Linked DNA regions of Homo sapiens: region 2 is linked to region 1. Evidence: promoter capture Hi-C in human tissues and cell types (Jung and others, 2019). All regions are on one chromosome and are shown on one strand. The core of a region is centred on a gene start or on the middle of the fragment in contact, and the rest is flanking DNA. Distances in the headings are between cores, read along the strand shown. Region 1 holds the start of WFDC1 (WAP four-disulfide core domain 1). Region 2 overlaps ATP2C2 (ATPase secretory pathway Ca2+ transporting 2).

Region 1 (3,166 bases), core at 369-2,868:
CAAGGCATCCTCTGCCTCCCTAAGTGCTAGGATTACAAGTGTGAGCCACCGTACCCGACCTACACAGACTATATGTGTTTGCCACTATTGTCATTCACTAAAAGGCCAAGAGGGGTTGATGATACCTGCCCAGGGCATTCTGAAGGCTGTGCTGGCCAGGAGGTGGGGGGTGAGGGTCCCCAGGGAGGGAGGAACCAATCTTTCTGGAGCACTCACTCTGTGCAAGTGCTGGGCACAGCTGGCACCCTCTCCTGTAGCCCCACATCGATCTCAAGAGGCAGAGACTTTCACATGCCCATTTCACAGATGAGAGAACTGAGGACCATGAGCAAGAGGCTTTCCAGCATCTCGCAGAGGCTGAACTGGGATCAGGCAGGTGCGTCAAGCCTAGTGCTTGGGTCCCTTCTGCTTCGCCTAGGGGGGTGCCACAGGGTCTGACCTACCTGGGTTCCAGCCTCCTCTCTGCTGCTGTTGCATGACCTCAGGCAGCCCCCTCTGTTTCCTCATCTGTAAAGCGGGCATCAAAACAGTGTCTGTTTTGGGGCCGGGTGTGGTGGCTCACACACCTGTAATACCAGCACTTTGGGAGGCTGAGGCGGGCAGATCACTTAAGGTCAGGAGTTTGAGACCAGCCTGGCCAGCATGGTGAAACCCAGTCTCCACTAAAAATACAAAAATTAGCCAGGCATGGTGGCACATGCCTGTTATCCCAGCTACTTGGAAGGCCGAGACAGGAGAATCGCTTGAACCCGGGAGGCAGAGGTTGTAGTGATCTGTGATCACACCACTGCACTCCAGCGTGGGTGACAGAGCAAGACCCGTCTCGAAAAACAAAACAAAACAAAAAACCAGTATCTGTCTTGGAAGTGCTGAGAACAGACAAGGGAATATGAAGTTTGTGAAATGTTGAGCCCGCTGTGCTACATTCCTGTAAAACACACACGTGCACATGCACACCCACGTGCACACACGCATACACATAAATGCACATGTGCAGATACACCGGCTGACAGTGACAGCACACTTATGTGTGTGAAATGCTTTATGTGCTCAATTTCTTTTAAATCTCACAGGAAACACACGCTATGAGGAACTACCCACATGCCCACATCAGGCAGGAGGACCCCGGCGGGTGCAAGGGTGGAAGTCGTCTCTTCATGGCTGCACCCTTGGCCAGTGCCAGTCCAGCAGCCTCTTTCAAAGAAGCTTTTATAGGCAGATAGTTTGTCAGCCCAGCTCGAAATGTGAACAAGGTAGCAGCCGAGCCCCCACCCATCCGGCTGCACTCCCCTGCATGTCCAGCCCCGAGCCCTGTGTCAAGCACACCTCCTTGGGAGGAGACCGCCCCAGCCTGCAAGGAAGTGCTCATTATGGAGAGTGGAGAGTGACAGGCCACTCCCGGCCACGTCTCCAAGCAAGCCGGTGCCCCCTCCTCCTGCTGCCACCGCCCACTGAGCTGCCTGGGCTGCAGACGCCCTGGTTGGAGCGTCTGGGGCCAGATGTTATAGGGCAAGCTAAAAATAACCGGGCAGGCCAGCCACCATCGAGGAAGGGGCATGTGCTGGACGCGGACACATGATCCGAGGGACCCTGCTGGGTGGAACTAAGAAAGTCCAGCAGACTGTGCACGCTCCTGTCCCCACTCACAGGCCCACGCAGCGAGGGGGGCCCCTCTTCTGTGTGCGTCTGGAAGGTCGCTGCCCAGGGAGGAAATGCCTTTAACCGGCGTGGGGCCGGGCAGCTGCAGGAGGCAGATCATCCGGGCTCTGTGCCTCTTGCTACTTCTCCTCCACGCCGGCTCTGCCAAGAATATCTGGAAACGGGCATTGCCTGCGAGGCTGGCCGAGAAATCCCGTGTAAGTGCCTGGGATGGGGAGGCTGGGGCAGCCTGTGTGGGTGGGAGTCAGCCTTGAGGAGAGGCGATCCCTAGACACTGCCTTCTCCTGTAAGTGCTCCCCCAAAACGTGGCAAGGCAGGCGTCTTCCTATCCGTGTGTGTCTGAGTTGTGTGGTGGGCAGATGGGGCTCACCCCCAAAAAAGGACCCTTATCTGTGAATCAAGAGGCAAAAGACACATCACAAATGTGCCAAAGAATCGTGCCTTACTTTTGCCTTGTTACAAAAGTATGCTTGCTCCTGAAAGACAGCATCTCATTTCGGAACCCCAGGATTTAAACGGAGCATTCCGTCTCCCTGATCAGTACCAAATGTTTGTGAAATACACTTATGCATTCATGTGGTTGTTTATTCATTCAGCAAACAGAATGAATACACTCTGTTAAACAGAATTTAGCAGAAACCGCTCTGGGGAAGGCACTCTGTGGGGTCCTGTGGATACAAGATAAAGGAGGTACCAGCCCCCATCCTCAAGGGTGGCGTGGCCGAGGTGCAGAGGCAGTTGGGTGACAAACGATGGCAGTACAAAGAGAAGGCATGAGGCAGTGAGTGGCAAGAAACACATGCCCTGGGGCCAGATGTCTGGGTGTGAATCGGGCTCTGCTGCTCATTAGCTGCGTGGCTTCTCTCAGGCAAGCTGCTTGACGTCTCTGAACCCCAGCAATCTCATCTGCAAAAGACAGAGGGATGCATTTCTTCACACAACTATGTCTGGGTCGCCACTGTTTACCAGGTACTGTCCTAGGCTGTGGGGATACAGGCCTCACATCTCTGCCTGGGGAACTCAATGGGGGGCTGGGGGCAGCAAAGAATAAATGAGAGAGATCTCATTTATTAGTATGTGCAGATTGCAAGTGCTGAGGAAGCAATAAAGCAGGAAGGGAACTAGGAGAGAGAATGGGGTGGAGGAGGCTATCATTTTTGGTTCCTCCCACCCCCCAGAGATCACAGATCCGCAGGGACGGAGTGAGCCAGGACGATATCAGCACACAGAGGGCTCAAGAAGGTAATGCTGGCACCCACAGCACCTGTGTGAGGATTGAATGTCTCAGTATGTAGAACGTCTTTGCAACATAGCAAGCTGGCAGTGCATCTTGGCAGCTTTCAATCAAATAATTGTGACTTTGTTTGGTGTTGCCTAACAGGGTAGCATGTAGGTTCCTTGGGGTAGGGCAGGGTTCTGTTTCACTAATGTGTGCCCCTGGTGCCTGCCATTAAGTTGACGCCTGGTACATTCTTGTGGGTGAATTATGAGCGGCTGCAGTGGTAGC
Region 2 (3,166 bases), core at 310-2,809, 130 kb after region 1:
GCCGTCCTTGACAGTTTTGAGGAGCCCCAGCCAGGTATTTTCCAGAATGTTCTTTGAGCCTCCTTCAAAGACTTTCCTCAGCATCGCTCAGTGACTTCTTATGCTTCATTGTCCAGAGCTGGAGCCGCGGGAGCCACAGGGAGGTGGGAATGTGACTGCGCAGCCGGAGGCCTCGCCTCCCTGACGCTGTGGGGTCCACTGGGAAGGAAGTGGGGAGACGGGCATTACCTGGGTGACAGGCGGCCACTGTCGTTCTTGGGGACTGAGATGCTATGGCAGTGCACATATTTTTAAAAGATGACTACTAAATTTAAATAGTTTTAAATTATAGAGAAGTCGCAGGTCCCTGTTTGAGAATCATTGATCTAGCTGTGGTTCTCTGGTGGTTTGTGGAAGATGGCTTCTCTCTAGCTTGGTGTTACATGCTTACATGACCAGGTCCCTAGGGATAGGCCCACCCAGCCCCGCTTTATGAACTCAGAGGTGTCTGGCACGGTTCTGGCCCTGGGAGCCTCACCTCGGGAGTGAGATGTGTTAAGTCTGGGGTCAAGTTGCGGTTTTGCAAGATGGTTAAGAGTATCGTTTCTGGAACCAGAGCTTCGGTTCAAATCTCTGTTTTGCCACTAACTAGCTACGGAAACTTGAACAAATTACTTAATTCTTCCATGCTTCAGTTTCCCCATATGCAAAATGGGGAAGATAGTAGAGTCTTCCATTGGGGGTGGTGAGTTCTGAGGGCTAAGCCTTGTGGGGAGCTGCGCACAGGGCCTGGTGTGTAGTCAGTGTTCTGCAAATGTCAGTATCTCCCTTCCCTTTGCCAGGGTGTGTGAGTGTCTCTGTGTCCCTGTCTGTGTTTCTGGTGTTACTGTTGCCTTAGATTCTGACTGAATAACCTGGCTCGGTTATTGTGTGGGATTGTGTGGGAACCATACAGATTGTACAGGCATCTCCAAGGTAAAGAGTGGGCTGCGTATGTGGGGACTCACACAGGTGTTTTGAAAGGTATATCCTAAAATAGCCATCACCTTCATTTTTTTTTTAGATTGTATCAAAATTTCGAACAACATTAAGCAAAGATATGAGACTTTTATGTTTTTAAGAGAGGCCGCTCATTCAAAGCTTTTCTGATCCTGGAGGCCTCAGAGGCCGTCGTTGTGACACTCATTCTGTAGGTTCACTGTGTTCTTGAGTTCATGTCCATGAAGGTGCTGGTACCATTTTGTGCTTTTAACACCAATTCTCGGGGTGACAGAGAGATTCCACAGCCTTTTCCCCTTGCTCTCCTAGGTCACGGACCTCTTGGTGGATGAATCCAGTTTCACCGGGGAAGCCGAGCCATGTAGTAAAACAGACAGCCCCTTGACAGGCGGTGGGGACCTCACCACCCTCAGCAACATCGTCTTCATGGGGACCCTGGTGCAGTATGGGAGGGGCCAGGTAAGCCCTGGGACACCGAGGCCTTGGGCTCCCGTAACCCACAGGCTCCCAGCCCTTAGATTTCATACTTCTCTCTCTCCTGGACACAGGGGGTCGTGATTGGAACAGGGGAAAGCTCTCAGTTCGGAGAAGTGTTTAAGATGATGCAGGCTGAAGAGGTAAGGGGCAGGAGGGGGCTTCGGGACTTTTGTAAGCTGGAGTTTGAGATTATTATAGGCAAATAATACCAGCCTTGCCTACTCCTTAGGAATGAGTGGCATGTGGTTCATATGAGTATACTTTTTAAACATTTAATTTTTTTTTTTAATAGAGACAGGGTTTCGCCATGTTGCCCAGGCTGGTCTCAAACTCCTGAGCTCAAGCAATCTGTCTGCCTCAGCCTCCCAAAGTGCCAGGATTACAGGCATAAGCCACCACACCTGGCCTCTTTTCAAACACGTAAGACATTTGTTAGCATTTTGATAAAGATACAGCTTTCAGACAGTAATACGCACAGGTCTTCAGTGCAAAAGTCAATGAATGTTGACATATGTGTACCCCTGTGTAATCATCACTGAAGCTGTAGGATGGCAAGGTGAAGACATTTTGAACAAAGGCAGGCAGAAGCTAGGATCTTGTCCAACTAACCCATTGTGCTCACCCTTTCAGACACCTAAAACTCCTTTGCAGAAAAGCATGGACAGGCTAGGAAAGCAACTGACACTCTTCTCCTTTGGCATAATCGGTGAGTGAAGCAGTTTCCATACTGGGTTTGTTCTGCAGATGGAGGGGAGCCATCATAGGGGGGTTGCCATGGCCGTTTCTCAAATATCTTGCTACTCAGCTGCATAAGGCTTGGGGATTGGGATCAGAGGCTCTCCACAAGCAACAAGAGCTTTCTGTATAGTTGGACCAGGCTGGCTGCTGTAACAAGCAGCCACTACATTTTCTTGGCTTAACAGAGTAAACGCTTGTTCCTTGCTCACACCGCAGTCCAAAGTCCGTGGGTGTATTCCTGGTCCAGTGGCTCTCCTGGATAGCTCGCCTACAAACAGTGACTTGGGCCCAGGCCCCTGTTACATTGCTGCTCTATCTTCCTCTGGGTCCTTGGAGGCCATGTTTCTGTTCAGCCAGCAGATGGTGAAAGAGGAAACATGGAGGCTTGTGGAGGACATTTTTAAGGCATAGACCAGGAAGTGGAATCATCAATTTGACCATCTTTTATTGGCCAGAATGGAGTCACATGGCCTACATAACTGCAAAGGAGACTGGGAAATGTAGTTTATCTGTGCACCCAAACATATTTCTATGCTTCTAAGCAGGCTGTTCCTGGACTGGGACTTCCTGACCTTTGGTAACACAACAAACAGCATTGACATGATGCTGCGGTTCTGAATCTAGATCTTAAGGCTTGACATCCCCATAGTGCTGCCCCAGTCCCTTCTGGGGCTTCTTCCTGTTCTTTCCATATCTGGCCTTACTTCTGTGTCCTTTATTCCAGCCTTTAGGATCAACCCATGCCTGGCCCCTAATAGATTCTCAGTAAATATTTGTTGAGTAAAACATTTAATCAAGGAATAAACCAACAAGCCACTGCCTATAGCACATCTAGTGATGAGGGGGGTGCTGGTGAGTGTAGCCAAAACTGCGAAGCCAGAGAACAGTCTTGAGAGAAACAGCTTATGTAAGCCCATGTTTCTTAAGTTAAATTAGAACTTAAATTGACATGTCCACAGCAAGACCCATGATA

Evidence for each region. The method cuts DNA at HindIII sites, captures the fragments that hold promoters and counts their contacts. A contact is called where the count stands out against the background at its distance.
Region 2: a fragment that was not itself captured here is called in contact with the fragment with the promoter of WFDC1 in region 1 in 3 of the 25 tissues and cell types used here (dorsolateral prefrontal cortex, mesendoderm cells and spleen).

The regions. Positions count from the first base shown.
Region 1 is chr16:84,293,260-84,296,425 of GRCh38, forward strand. It overlaps WFDC1 (WAP four-disulfide core domain 1), which reads left to right and starts at 1,619. Exons shown (of 7, transcript NM_021197.4): 1 at 1,619-1,856. The coding sequence starts at 1,713. It overlaps LOC124903734, which reads left to right. Exons shown (of 6, transcript XM_047435022.1): 5 at 258-376; 6 at 1,074-1,579. The coding sequence ends at 1,579. The HindIII fragment of the contact is 18,601 bases long and covers 1-3,166 here.
Region 2 is chr16:84,421,103-84,424,268 of GRCh38, forward strand. ATP2C2 (ATPase secretory pathway Ca2+ transporting 2) reads left to right here. Exons shown (of 27, transcript NM_014861.4): 8 at 1,288-1,437; 9 at 1,527-1,595; 10 at 2,086-2,161. Among named protein-coding and RNA genes, the nearest start is that of ATP2C2-AS1, 45 kb to the right of the region's middle. The HindIII fragment of the contact is 6,725 bases long and covers 1-3,166 here.